5 separate regions of the Homo sapiens genome follow, and all the other regions are linked to region 1. The links are contacts of gene promoters, found by promoter capture Hi-C in blood cells and fetal thymus (Javierre and others, 2016). All regions are on one chromosome and are shown on one strand. Each heading gives the region's core, a stretch centred on a gene start or on the middle of the fragment in contact. The rest is flanking DNA. Distances are from core to core; before and after follow the strand shown.

Region 1 (2,560 bases), core at 29-2,528:
GGCTGGTCTCGAAATCCCGACCTCAGGTGATCTGCCCACCTCAGCCTCCCAAAGTGGTGGGATTACAGGCGTGAGACACCGCGCCTGGCCCGGGACAAAGGAAATTAATGTTCAGCCTAGTAAACTAAATTTCCTGAATTTGCTACATCCTCGTTCTTATGACACACTAAAATAGGAAGTGTGTGTGTGTGTGTGTGTGTGTGTGTGTATGAAAATAAAGTGTTAATGTACATGTAGCAAAATGTTAACAATTGTTGAATCTAGGTGAAGGGAGGTCAATGCAGTATTCTTACAAGTTACTATATCTCAAATTTCTTCAAGATAAAAAGCTAATAAAAATGGTGGGTAACCATAGCACAGTAAAAAGAAAAAAGTGGGTGTACCATTTGACCTCTTATTCTACTATTAGGAGTCAGTCTATCCTAAAGATAAAGGAATTTTCAAAAGTTTTTGCCTTTGGGATTTTGGGGAAAAAAACGGGCTTGAGGTAAATCCAAATAAAAACAAATGAGCCTGGGGGGATTTCTGTCCTAATATTCCTCTAAATGGGACCTGGGAAGGCTTTTGAAAAATATATAGGCTATCTCAGAAAAGTTCCAAATAAATTATGTAGCTGCTCCACCCTAATAAGGAAGTTGAGCATAGCTTCCCACTCCCTAGGTGTGGGCTTTGTATAGTGGCTTCCTTCCTAAGACTACAGTATGGAAAGGGGGTTAAAAAAGGTAACTTCAGAGTGGAGAAACCTACAAACCCTACACTTTATTCAGGTAATCAAGGTTGACATGAATAGTCAGAAATCATGTATCCCCCTTTTTTTTTTCTTTTGGTAGAGACGGGGTTCCTCTATGTTGTCCAGCCTGGTCTCGAACTTGAGGTCAAGCGATACACCCGCCTTGGTCTCCCAAAGTCTCCGGATTGCAGGCGTGAGCCACCACGCCCGGCCAACAATCATGTACCCCTAAGCCCATAACCCTGTGTAATTATGCGAAAAATTCCAATAAAGGCACATTCTCCAATATACCTAACCAGTACTCCTCAAAACAGCCCGACTAATTTCAGATAGAGGAACTCCTTATCTTTTCTTCCTCCTACCCAAGATCCCAGTTTAGGAAAAAAATACCGGTCAGGTCACGAGTCAGCGACGTAGAAGGACCCGAGGACGCGCCCACAGGCCGGGACAGGGCGGGACTTCCTGGGCGTCGCTCTCTTCCCATTGGCTGAGAAGGGTCATGAGGATGAACTGTGCAGTCACCTGGCAGGAACCGGAACCCGCGGTTATAAAGTAAAGGAACCCGAGATCTGCGCAGGGGTTCCCTTTGCCGATTTCTCTCACCTCACCTTTCAAACCTAAACTCGAGCCTACTGTTCACCGGCCTAGCATTGCTCTCGCCATGGCTCTCAGCGATGCTGACGTGCAAAAGCAGGTGAGGGGCTTGGTTGGGTCTTACGAAGCCGCGGCGGCAGTCCCGGGGAGTGGGCTGGAGCCCGCCTAGGGAAGGCCGCGGGCCTTGAGCCGCCCAGATGCCGCAGGAAGGTCCCTTGCTCCAAGTCACCAGATCCAAGAGGTCGGCCTGAGGACGGAGATTTGCCCCGCAGCTCATGTGACTTTTGCTCGGGTCTTGGGCACTGCCCGCTTGCCTGCGCGCTGCCTTCTTGAACGCCCTGGCTCTTTGCCTCCCACCTCAGCATTCCCTGTTTTCCAAGGGTATTCACTGTGCCTAGTCGGACAGAGATCTGTGCAAGGATTGAAAACAGCCTTGTGGCCAGGGGCAGTGGCTCACGCCTGTAATCCCAGTATTTTGGGAGGCCGAGGCGGCCGGATCACCTGAGGTCAGGAGTCCGAGACTAGCCTGGCCAAAATGGTGAAACCCCGGTCTCTACTAAAAATAGAAAATTAGCCGGACGTGGTGGCGCGCGCCTGTAATCCCAGCTACTCGGGAAGCTGAACCCGGAGGCGGAGGTTGCAGTTAGCCGAGATCGCGCCTTTGCACTCCAGCATGGGCGACAGGGCGAGACTCCCTCTGGAAAAAGAAAAAAAAAAAACAAACCAGCCTTGTCACTTTTTTTTTTTTTAACCCTGAGGGAAATGCTTAAGGCTATATGATAGGAAACAGTGCGGAGGGAAGAGACCTGCTTCCAACCAGTGTTTTGACAAGGTCGTTCACTTTATGAACTGTGTTTTTTTCTTTTTTTCTTTTTTTTTTTTTTGAGACGGAGTCTCACTCTGTCGCCCAGGCTGGAGTGCAAGGGCGCGATCTCGGCTCACTGCAACCTCCGCCCCGGGTTCAAGTGATTCTCCTGCCTCAGCCTCCCTAGAAGCTGGGATTACAGACTCGCGCCCCAAGCCCGGCTAATTTTTGTATTTTTTTTAGTAGAGGCAGGGTCTCACCATATTGGCCTGGCTGGTCTTGAACTCCTGACCTCAGGTGATCTTCCCACCTGGGCCTCCCAAAGTGCTGGGATTACAGGCATGAGCCAACGCGCCAGGCCTGTATGTACTGTTAATCTTCATTTTGGGGAAGTCCCCTCTATCATAATGGATTGTAATGATTGGTCTCCC
Region 2 (2,560 bases), core at 18-2,517, 500 kb after region 1:
TGGTAATCGGGACACCCTGCAGAGCTGGGGTTGCTGTAGCAACCAGATGCTGCCTGGAGGGCGGAATTTTAAAATATCTCAGCTATAATAGTTTTTTTCACATTCTGTCACTTCCCCAGTGCTGCATCATACTGCTGAGGTGGGCCATGCGGGGACACAGGGGCCCTTGGGTGGCAGCTTCTGTGGGTGTTGGAAGTGGGAAGATGGTCTCAGGGTGTTAACTGCTGGGCAGCCGACAGCCTCAGCTTTCGCTTCCAGGTTCCTCCAGCTCTTGGTTCCAAAGCCTCGTGTCATTTTCTCTCTTTTTGGGGTGAGAGGGGATGGAGAGAGAGAATAGGAGTCTAGCTTGAAACTCCTTCCCTACCTCCTCCCCCTCTGATTTGAGCTTTCTGGCTCTGCATCCCTAGGCGAGCAGCCTTGGCGTTCCTGGAGCTGTCTCTTTGGAGAGGGGAGGGGTGTTCCTTCTTCCTTTCTTGTCTGCTTCTTCCTTTGGTCTTTCTTTTTTTTTTTTTTCTTGAGACGGAGTCTCGCTCTGTTGCTCAGGCTGGAGTGCAGTGGCACGATCTCGACTCACTGCAAGCTCCGCCCCCCGGGTTCACGCCATTCTCCTGCCTCAGCCTCCCCAGTAGCTGGGACTACAGGCACCCGCCACCACCCCCGGCTAATTTTATTTTTTTAATTTTTAGTAGAGACGGGGTTTCACTGTGTTAGCCAGGATGGTTTCCATCTCCTGACCTCGTGATCCGCCTGCCTCGGGCTCCCAAAGTGCTGGGATTACAGGCGGGAGCCACCGCGCCCGGCCCCTTTGGTCTTTCTAACTTCCTCTTTCGGCTTCATTTATTCACATATAAATGACTGTTGCTCTCCTACCAAATGCAGTGTTAAGAAATGAGGGCCGGGCTCGGTGGCTCACGCCTGTAATCCCAGCACTTTGGGAGGCCGAGGCAGGCGAATCACTTGAGGTTAGGAGTTTGAAACCAGCCTGGCCAACATAGTGAAACCCTATCTCTACTAAAAACAAAACAAAACAAAACAAAAATTAGCCAGGCAGGTGGCACGTGCCTGTAGTCCCAGCCACTCGGGAGGCTGAGGCAGGAGAATCACTTGAAACCGAGAGGCGGAGGTTGCAGTGAGCCGAGATTGCACCATTGCACTCCAGCCTGGATGACAGAGTGAGACTCCATCTCAAAAAAAAAAAAAAAAAAAGAAAGAAAGAAAAGAAACGAGAAATTCCCTTGTTCTAGAGGAATTCATCCTGTCTTGACCCTGGACTTGCCTATCAGATATCAAACATTTTTATGAAGTTACAGTAATTAAGACACTGTACTACTGGCAGAGGGAGAGACACAAACCAATGGCACAAAGGAGAGTACCCAGAAACAGACCTACACATGTATGAAAATGTGGCCTCACAAAATCTTTCTTTCTTACTCATTTCATAGCCTGATATGGGTCAGGTGGCTACTCTTGACCTTTTTGCTTCAAGTGGTGACTCAGGGATCCAGGCACCCTCCAGTTGGTGATGCTGTCATCTTCCACACATGGGTCCAAGGTCTGTGGGAGAGAGTGTGAATGGATAACTGTGAAGGGATTTATGGCCGAACCAGGCTGTGGTGGGTGCCACATGTGTGCATGTTTATTGGCTAGCCACATGGTTCTAATGTGACTGCAAAGAGGATGGGAAATGTGGTCTTTCTCTGTCTAGGAAGAGGAAATGGGATTGAACAGCATCTAGTCTGTCTCTGTTGCCATATTACTATTTACTAGGAATAAAGAAATTCTGGCCAGGCTTGGTGGCTTACACCTATAATCCCAGCACTCTGGGAGGCAGAAGCAGGAGGATCTCTTGAGTCCAGGAGTTTGAGACTAGCCTGGGCAACATGGGGAGACCCTCTCTCTACAAACAAACAAAAAAATAGCTGGGCGTGGTGGCACATGCTTGTAGTCACAGCTACTTGGAAGGCTGAGGCAGGAGGGTTGCTTGAGCCCAGGATTCAAACCTGCAGTGAACTATGATTGTGCCACTGCACTCTGGTCTGGACAACAGAGCAAGACCAATAGAGCAAAAAATTTTGTTTTGCTCAATTTTTGTTGAAATTCATGAATAGATATTAAATGTTTGTTTCTCTGTATTTGTTGAGTTGATCTTAAGTGTTCTTCTCCTTTAATCTGTTAATATGGTAAACCATATTAATATATTTTGTTTTTATCTTTTTTTTTTTTTTTTTTTTTGGAGACAGGGTCTCTCTCTGTCACCCAGGTTGCAGTACAGTTGTGCAGTCCTGGCTCACGGCAGCCTCGACCTCCCGGGCTTAAACAATTCTCCCGCCTCAGCCTCCCAAGTAGCTGGGACTACAGGTATGTGCCACCACACCCCAGCTAATTTTATTGTTTAATTTTTTGTAGAGGTGAGGTCTTGCCATGTTGCCTAGGCGGCTCTCAAACTCCTGGGCTTCAAGCGCTCCTCCCACCTTGGCCTCTAGAATGTTGGGATAACAGGCGTGAGTCACTATGCCCAGCCTGTTGTCATCTTTAACTCTTTCTTTCATCCCTGGGATAA
Region 3 (2,560 bases), core at 61-2,560, 430 kb after region 1:
GTGGCTCATGCCTGTAATCCCAGCGCTTTGGGAGGCTGAGGCGAGCAGATCATGAGGTCAGGAGTTCAAGACCAGCCTGACCAGCATGGCGAAACCCCGTCTCTACCAGAAATACAAAAAAATAGCCAGGCGTGGTGGCATGTGCCTGTAATCCCAGCTACTCGGGAGTCGTGCTTGAACCCAGGAGGTGGAGGTTAAAGTGAGCCGAGATCGCACCACTGCACTCCAGCCTGGGTGACAGAGCGAGACTCCGTCTCAAAAAAAAAAAAAAAAAGGAAAGAAATTATTCTAAATACAAACACATAATCCATGATTGGCATTATCGGTCAGAATGATATGACACATGATGCAGCTTCAGGAAAATTCTACTGTACATCCATGAGAGAATAAGAGTGAAACAGACAGTGAACCAAGATTGCACCACCACACTCCAGCCTGGACGACACGGCAAGACTGTTGCAAAATAAAAGTTTAAAAAAATTTTTTTGTTTTGTTTTGTTTTTTTTTGAGACGGAGTCTTGCTCTGTCGCCCAGGCTGGAGTGCAGTGGCGCGATCTCAGCTCACTGCAACCTCCAACTCCCGGGTTCAAGCGATTCTCCTGCCTCAGCCTCCCCAGTAGCTGGGATTACAGGCGCCCACCACCACGCCCGGCTAATTGTTGTATTTTTAGTAGAGATGAGGTTTCACCATGTTGGCCAGGATAGTCTCCAACTCCTGACCTCAGGTGATTTGCCCGAGGTGATCTGCCTCCGCCTCCCAAAGTGCTGGGATTACAGGCATGAGCCATCACACCCGGCCTAAGAATTTGCTATGTGCACAGATAGATGCAGGCCTTCCTTGAAAAGACGTGAAGCACCAAAGAAGTTAGAGTGAGGGCTTATATTCCATTTTAACAACTGGTAATAAATTGTGAAGAAGTGACAAGATGAAGGAAAAGGGGTTTGGGCTTCTAGGGACAGTAAATTGTGGGCAGGCAAACATATGGGGGAAACTAATGGAAGATAAGGGCAATTTTATAAGGCTGGTTTGTGCAGACCCATCTTGGTAACAACTTTCTGTTTCCGGTGGTAAGGGTGATTCTCCTGGTACGGGAGAGGGGAGGGCGACACCTTCACAAAGGGAAATTTAGGCAGATGAGGTGGGCAAAGAGCTCTTTCTTCATTTGCTGCTTCTTAATTGCCTTCAGCTAAAAATATTTCTTCTGCTAAAGTGGCCTATTGGGTGACATATTCTGACCCTCTTCAGTAAATAATAATAATAATAGACAATACTAGATCCTGAATGAACAGTACCTAAGGTTCTTCCTTCTGGCACGCTCTGGCAGCCTTAAAGTTCAGTAGCCCCTGAGCATGGCTGTGCCAGGTCAGGCAGTCAGGGAAACTGCCCGAGCAGAGTGAGTGGCCTGGCCAGGTGCAGGTTGTGGGGGGCTGTGTGACGTGCCAGGCTTCATGGGGGCAGCAGAGGAAACAGAAGAGCAAAGACCAGTGGAGAGCCTCACTGCCTGCTCCCCCACTGCGCCTGCCCAGGCAGCGGGGCAGCACCCTGGAGATGAGAGAGCAGCAGTACTGTTCTGCAGGCCTGGGGGAATGCGGGGATCTGAGGGACTGCCCAGAGACAAAGGACACACAATGGCCGCAGCCTGGAGGGGTGTGGGAGGCCCCTAGGCTGGGGAGACAGGAGTGAGGCAAGGGGCTGGTGGGAAATGAGCAGAGGAGGTGGACTCCCAAGGGCCCATTTCCTGAGATGCCACAGAGGCAAGAGCCGACTCCCGGGAGGAGGAAGGGCATTTCTCCCTTAGTGAGGGGACAGCTCCTGGCTCCCACTGCAGCTCTCAACCTCGGCTCCTTGAACCCCCGCCCCCAGGCAGCTCTTGACTCTGTGTGGAGCCACCATTCCCTTGGTCAGGACTAGCAACCTTCTCTGACCCATCCAGTCACAACAAACTGCTTCTTCTTTTGAGAGGTCATGTGCTTCTCTTTAGCACTTATTCTATTGTTTCTTTTTTTTTTTTTTTTCATTCCTTTTTACAGACAGGAACTCACTCATTGCCCAGGCTGGTCTTGACCTCCTGGGCTCAAGTGATCCTCCTGCCTCGGCCTCCCAAAGTGCTGGGATTACAGGCGTGAGCTCTTTTTAGTGGGTCAGGTCTATCTCTCTGACCCTATTGTCACTCCTGAGGGCAGCTATCTTGTCTATTAGCATTTTTTCATCCCTTCCAATGCCCAGCCCTGTTCCTTTTATATCATAAGGGCTTAACTGATGCCATGGAAGTAATCGACATCTCCATATTATTGCTCCCTGTCTCCTTCACCCCACAGTCTCTGCAGAAATTCCCACATCTTTTTTTTTTTTTTTTAGTTTTTTTTTAAGGTGGAGTCTCGCTCTGTCACCCAGGCTGGAGTGCAATGGCGCGATCTTGGCTCACAGCAACCTCTGCCTCCTGGGTTCAAGCGATTATCCTGCCTCAGCCTCCCGAGTGGCTGGGACTACTACAGGCACGCACCACCACACCCGGCTAATTTTTGTATTTTTAGTAGAGACGAGGTTTCACCATATTGG
Region 4 (2,560 bases), core at 44-2,543, 410 kb after region 1:
GTGGTGGTGAGCCGAGATCATGCCACTGCACTCCAGCCTGGGCAATAAGAGTGAAACTCCTTCTCAAAAAAAAAGAAAAATGAAAATCATTTATGCTGTGTAATTGTATAGTTGCTTTATAGTTTTAAAAATATTTTCAGCCAGGCACAGTGGCTCACGCCTGTAATGCCAGCACTTGGAAGACTGAGGCAGGTGGATCACGAGGTCAGGAGTTCAAGACCAGCCTGGCCAAGATGGTGAAACCCCGTCTCTACTAAAAATACAAAAAAAAAATTAGCCAGGCATGGTGGCAGGTGCCTGTAATCCTGGATACTCGGGAGGCTGAGGCAGAGAATTGCTTGAGACTGGGAGGCAGAGGCTGCAGACAGCCAAGATTGTGCCACTGCACTCCAGCCTAGGTGACACAGCGAGACTCTGTCTCAAAAAAAAATTTTCACATATATTATTTCATACATACACACACACAAAAAACTTACTTAGAAAAAAAAAACTTAGTAGGAGGCACATGACATTTTTTCCTTCTTGCAGATTAAAGCTTTGAGTTTTATGGATATTAGGACATTTTCTTCAAAACCACATAGCAGTTCAATGAAAGAGCTAACTTTTCTGCTTCCTAAAAATACTTTGGTGTTTCAAAACACAAGTTCCCAGTGTCTGGAAAAATCACTTATGCCTGGTAACGTCTATTCCTGGGCTCCACTTTTGCTAATTGTGTGTTCCTCCAGGGATCTGCTTCCTTGTGCCCGGTGACTCCCCCACTACTTCAAAAACCTTCCATTTTCTTGCTGCCAGGGAAAGCGGTGTGGTGGAACCCACCTGGGCCTGCAAGGCCGTGCTATGCTTGTTACTAGCTGTGTGACCTTGGGCAAGTTACCTTACTGCCAGGTGCTTCAGGGTACGCCTCTCTCAAGTGGGGATTGCAATAGTCCCTACCTTATAAGATTGCTGCAAGGATTAAATGAGTATATATACACACACACACATACACACACATATTTGTATATACTCATTTATAGGTATGTATTGCTGTAGGGATTAAATGTTATATATATATATATATATATATATATATATATATATATATATATATACACACACACATACATATATAATTCTTAATATGCCTTAGCAATTATTATTTCCATTTTCTTAACTCTGGGTCAGAGAATCTTATTTACCTCATATAACAATCATATATGCAGCACTTTAAACCACTGGTAACTCTGCTATACTCTGTTATAGGTTGTGCATAGCATATAATTCATGATATTGGTGTGAAGAAAGGGATGTTTTAATGAAAATACCTCTCAAATGTTTGTGTAGCCATAGATGATCTTTAATTCTGAAAACCTCTCCTGTCTCCAATTCTGAGGTCATAATCCACCTGTCTCTTCAGGCATCTTTCTGTTGAGGTTTAGTTTTGCAGTCACTAAAAGATGCCTTTGTCCTGTTTTTCTGCCCTGCAGATTTTCAGGTTCTGAACACAAGCCCAGTTTCTGCTTCTGATGATCATTTTCAATAGAGCATAAAAAACAGAGCCATGTTCCACGTTTTTACGGCCTCTGCACTTGGCAAAATATTCTTCCCGAATGGCCTCACGTGTGCTCCCTATCATCACGCCTTTTCAGCTAGGCAACGCTCAGAGTCACACCTGAGTGGAGGCCGACGCCCCTTTGGAGGCGACTCCAGCCATAAAAAGTCCTGCTTGGAGCTGGTTTTAGCCACAGAGGGCCAATAAATGGCCCCTTCTGAATGAGGTGCCCCTGCACCTCTGCAGAGCCTGCTGCCAGCCTCCAGGATCTAACTGGGCTCTGATTCACCGCTCCCAACCCCACATCCAGGTAAGTGTGCCCAGCTCTTGTCTCTGCTTCCACCTCAAGATCTGAGTCTCCACTCCCCAGAACCCGGCAGGTTCTGCCTGACAAGGACCTGCAGTCCTCTGCCAGCTGCCACACCCTTGCCAAGGTGTGACTTGGAGTCCTGGAGCCACCTTCGGAGATGTGAAAATTAGCTCCTACTTTTAGCTAAAGCGTTTGGAAAGAAAAGCTTGATCTTTAGCTTTGACCTGGTCTTTAAAAAAACCCTTCAAGGGGAACATCACACACCAGGGCCTGTCGGGGGGGTCGGGGCTGGGGGAGGGATAGCATTAGGAGAAATACCTAATGTAAATGATGTGTTGATGGGTGCAGCAAACCAACATGGCACAGGTATACCTATGTATCAAACCTGCACATTGTGCACATGTACCCTAGAACTTAAAGTATAAAAAAAACCCACAAAAAACCCTTCACATGATTTACTTTCAGAATTGGTGGTTTCCCTTTGTGCGGCGCTGGAATCAATCTTGTTTCTCCTTATTACTTGCGGTGCATTCTGCTTCCTCTAACTTTCAAAAAATTAGTGTTAAACTCTTTTTTTTTTTTTTGAGACAAAATCTCACTCTGTCATCCAGACTGGAGTGCAATGGTGCAATCTCAGCTCACTGCAACCTCCACCTCCAGGGTTCAAGCAATTCTCCTGCCTCAGCCTCCCAAGTAGCTGGGATTACAGGTGCGCACCA
Region 5 (2,560 bases), core at 38-2,537, 400 kb before region 1:
CAAGTTACTTACTGTTTGTGCTTTTAGGTTCTTAATATGTAAAACAATGTTTTACATTAAAAATTAAATGAAATAGCTCCTGAAAAGCCCAGTCACATTGTCAGAGCTCAGTAAAAATGTGTTCCCTTATTCTAGTACTGGGGCAGAACACCTGCAGGTTTGTAGGTGGGGAGACAGTGGACAGAGTGGCTGGGTGATGAAGTGGGGCTCTAGAGGATGAGCAGAGATTGCCTCTGAGCCGACACCCTGGCCCTGTCAGTTCCCGTCCTCACATGATGGACATGAAGGGAACACGAATGAAGCAGATGATGATACGGTTAAGTAAATACCACCTGGGACCAGAGAGAGCCCTTCTCAAGGAGTCGCCAGCCCAGAGTCGGCCCTCTTCTGAGCTGGCCGGCTGGAGTCAATCTGCTTTGGACAACACAGCTTCAGATGGAGATAATACTGAGGCCAATGATCCTTGAAGACAAAATAATCTCTGGGCTTCTTTCTGCTCTGATTATAATGTTGCAATTATACTGAGCAGATGCTGATAGGAATTTGGTCAAATCCATCCCGTCTTCCATCTAACTTATTTTAGTGCCTGGTGGATTTCTGTCCAGCTCCACGGGCTGTGGCAATGCCGGGGCTGGCTGGAAGTGTGGAAGGGGCTGGCTGGAAGTGTGGAAGAGGCTGCCCGGGCTCCGGCATCAAGAGGTTTTCTCCGGTGGGGAGGAGTGCGCGATCTGATCCTTGGAGCGCTTGCAACTGTAGCCCTCCCCCAGGGCTCTGCGCTGATCTCCAGGGTCATCATCATAGTAACAGTAAGAACTTCATTTTATAGCATTTTTCAATCTGTAAGACAACGTCGTGTCCTTTATACCGTTGAAATTTCAATTTCACGACTACTCAGATGTTACGCGACTTGCTCAGTATCCAACACTTGGTTCCTTCACTGGCTCCCGGAGACCTGGGTGCTGAAGCCACTGCAAGGAGGTGTGTGCTCGAACACACAGCGAACACCGACTGCGTGGTTAGCAGGATTCGCTGGGGAAGAGGCCTCAGGAGAGTGCTGGAATTTCCAACCTTCGAGGTGCTAGTAACGTGTGTCGAGGAAGGGGTTGGAGAAGGGGAGAAAATGAAAAGAAGGGGAGAAAATGAAAAGATGGGGAGGAGGAGAAATGGTTTGGGTTTGGTTTTGGCTTGAGCCTCACCCAAGCGTCCCACGCCGCAGCTCCGCGGCCTCCTGGGGGCGCCCGCTCGCGTTGCCACGGCGCTCGCGCGGAGCCGCAGCCCGCCCAGCCAGCAGCGCGCGCTCCTGCAGCCCCGGCGGAGTCCCGGCGGGGAGCGCCCGCGTAGGCAGGCACCCGGGGCAGCCCTCCGTCCTCGCCGCGCGGCCTGAGAACCCCTGGGCCCTGGGCGAGGGGGCTGGGCTGTGCAGCCCCCGAGGCTAACTGGGCGGGATCGCAGCTGCAGGGGTTGTGCGAGCAGCCACGGCGGCACCTGTGCCCTGCGGGCACCCACCCTGCCCCTGCCGAGGCAGGCGCCCACCGCCGGCGGTGATGCGGCTGTGAAGCCCTAGTCGGTGAGTACCCTCCAGTCCCCCTGTGGGCGAGCGAATCTAAATGACAAGGTTATGTGTTTTGCTGGATGTCTTCTAAGAATCATTTATTTAGATTGCTTATGGTGGGGAAGCGTTTCCTTTGTGACATCTTTGTGTTTCTCGGATCTATTTCGTTTCCCTCTAAACGCAGCCCTCTCTCCCCTAGTGGGAAAGACACCCAGTATCCGTGTCTCGATCATCGCACGACACCCACCAGTGCGGATGCCACGTACCACACACTCCCCAGAGCCTGCCAGAGAGCAGGGCTGTCTCCCAGCCACGTCCACCCCATTTTCATTGTGCTTCTATCCCGCAGGCAAAGGAAGAGCGTACCCAGGCACCCCCGAGGTAGGCCAGGTGTCAGGACAGCCAGCAGGCCCTTGGCGAAGCCGGGTCCGCTCTGGCTAGCTCAGCGCGGTGAACCCATGAGCTCATTAGGAGCAGCGGCTGCTTTGCGCGGGGAACGCCGGTTTCCCTGCGGCAGAGGGGCCCTGCACCCGCCCGCGGCGCGCGGTGGTGGCCCAGGACCAGTGGCGCACACGCTTGCGCTCCCAGGCTGCAGGGCGCGCTGCGCCGGCGCAGCTCCCGGGCGTGTGCAACAAAAGGACGGCCAAGTTCATTCCCTCCTGGAAGCAGAGGGCGGGGCCGCATGACTTCTGGAGGCTGCATGTGTCTTAGAATCAAATGGTTATGACTCCATAGCAAAATGCTTTCTGTGTGTCAAGTCCTCTCCGTGCCTGCCAACCCCTTCCCTCCTCTCTCCTCCCTAAAATGCTTTCTTATTGGTCTGGCACTGTGATCAACTATTTAGAATTTTCATTGTAAAGAAATGAAAAAAGGGTGAAACCGAGACAAGCTGTAGGCTGAAAGGCTGGGCCCTGTGGTGCTATTCATTAGCTCTCAGGCCTGGCTGCTGGGGAGATTTTTAGAAATCCTGCTACCTGGGTCCAATCCCTGGAGATTCTGACTTAATTG

The links. The method cuts DNA at HindIII sites, captures the fragments that hold promoters and counts their contacts. A CHiCAGO score of 5 or more calls a contact.
Region 2: a contact is called between a fragment that was not itself captured here and the fragment with the promoter of ATP6V1E1 in region 1, in 3 of 17 cell types (neutrophils, total CD8 T cells and total CD4 T cells). The highest score is 10.4, in neutrophils.
Region 3: a contact is called between a fragment that was not itself captured here and the fragment with the promoter of ATP6V1E1 in region 1, in 1 of 17 cell types (naive CD8 T cells). The highest score is 5.9, in naive CD8 T cells.
Region 4: a contact is called between a fragment that was not itself captured here and the fragment with the promoter of ATP6V1E1 in region 1, in 1 of 17 cell types (total CD8 T cells). The highest score is 5.3, in total CD8 T cells.
Region 5: the fragment with the promoter of MICAL3 here is called in contact with the fragment with the promoter of ATP6V1E1 in region 1 in 1 of 17 cell types (erythroblasts); the score reaches 5.3 in erythroblasts.

The regions. Positions count from the first base shown.
Region 1 is chr22:17,627,467-17,630,026 of GRCh38, reverse strand. ATP6V1E1 (ATPase H+ transporting V1 subunit E1) reads left to right here and starts at 1,278. Exons shown (of 9, transcript NM_001696.4): 1 at 1,278-1,424. The coding sequence starts at 1,392. It also overlaps a transcript of BCL2L13 not described here. RefSeq lists enhancers at 1,153-1,322, 1,264-1,353, 1,434-1,583. The HindIII fragment of the contact is 8,319 bases long and covers 1-2,560 here.
Region 2 is chr22:17,129,356-17,131,915 of GRCh38, reverse strand. It overlaps LINC01664 (long intergenic non-protein coding RNA 1664), which reads right to left. Exons shown (of 4, transcript NR_103793.1): 3 at 1,432-1,554; 4 at 1-301. Among named protein-coding and RNA genes, the nearest start is that of LINC01664, 9.0 kb to the right of the region's middle. The HindIII fragment of the contact is 7,377 bases long and covers 1-2,560 here.
Region 3 is chr22:17,193,476-17,196,035 of GRCh38, reverse strand. The region is part of intron 4 of ADA2 (adenosine deaminase 2); the gene reads left to right. Among named protein-coding and RNA genes, the nearest start is that of ADA2, 25 kb to the left of the region's middle. RefSeq lists an enhancer at 201-716. The HindIII fragment of the contact is 7,135 bases long and covers 1-2,560 here.
Region 4 is chr22:17,221,008-17,223,567 of GRCh38, reverse strand. It overlaps a transcript of ADA2 not described here. Among named protein-coding and RNA genes, the nearest start is that of ADA2, 2.9 kb to the right of the region's middle. The HindIII fragment of the contact is 1,511 bases long and covers 538-2,048 here.
Region 5 is chr22:18,023,288-18,025,847 of GRCh38, reverse strand. MICAL3 (microtubule associated monooxygenase, calponin and LIM domain containing 3) reads left to right here and starts at 1,287. Exons shown (of 32, transcript NM_015241.3): 1 at 1,287-1,567. RefSeq lists a silencer at 1,150-1,559. The HindIII fragment of the contact is 4,064 bases long and covers 1-2,560 here.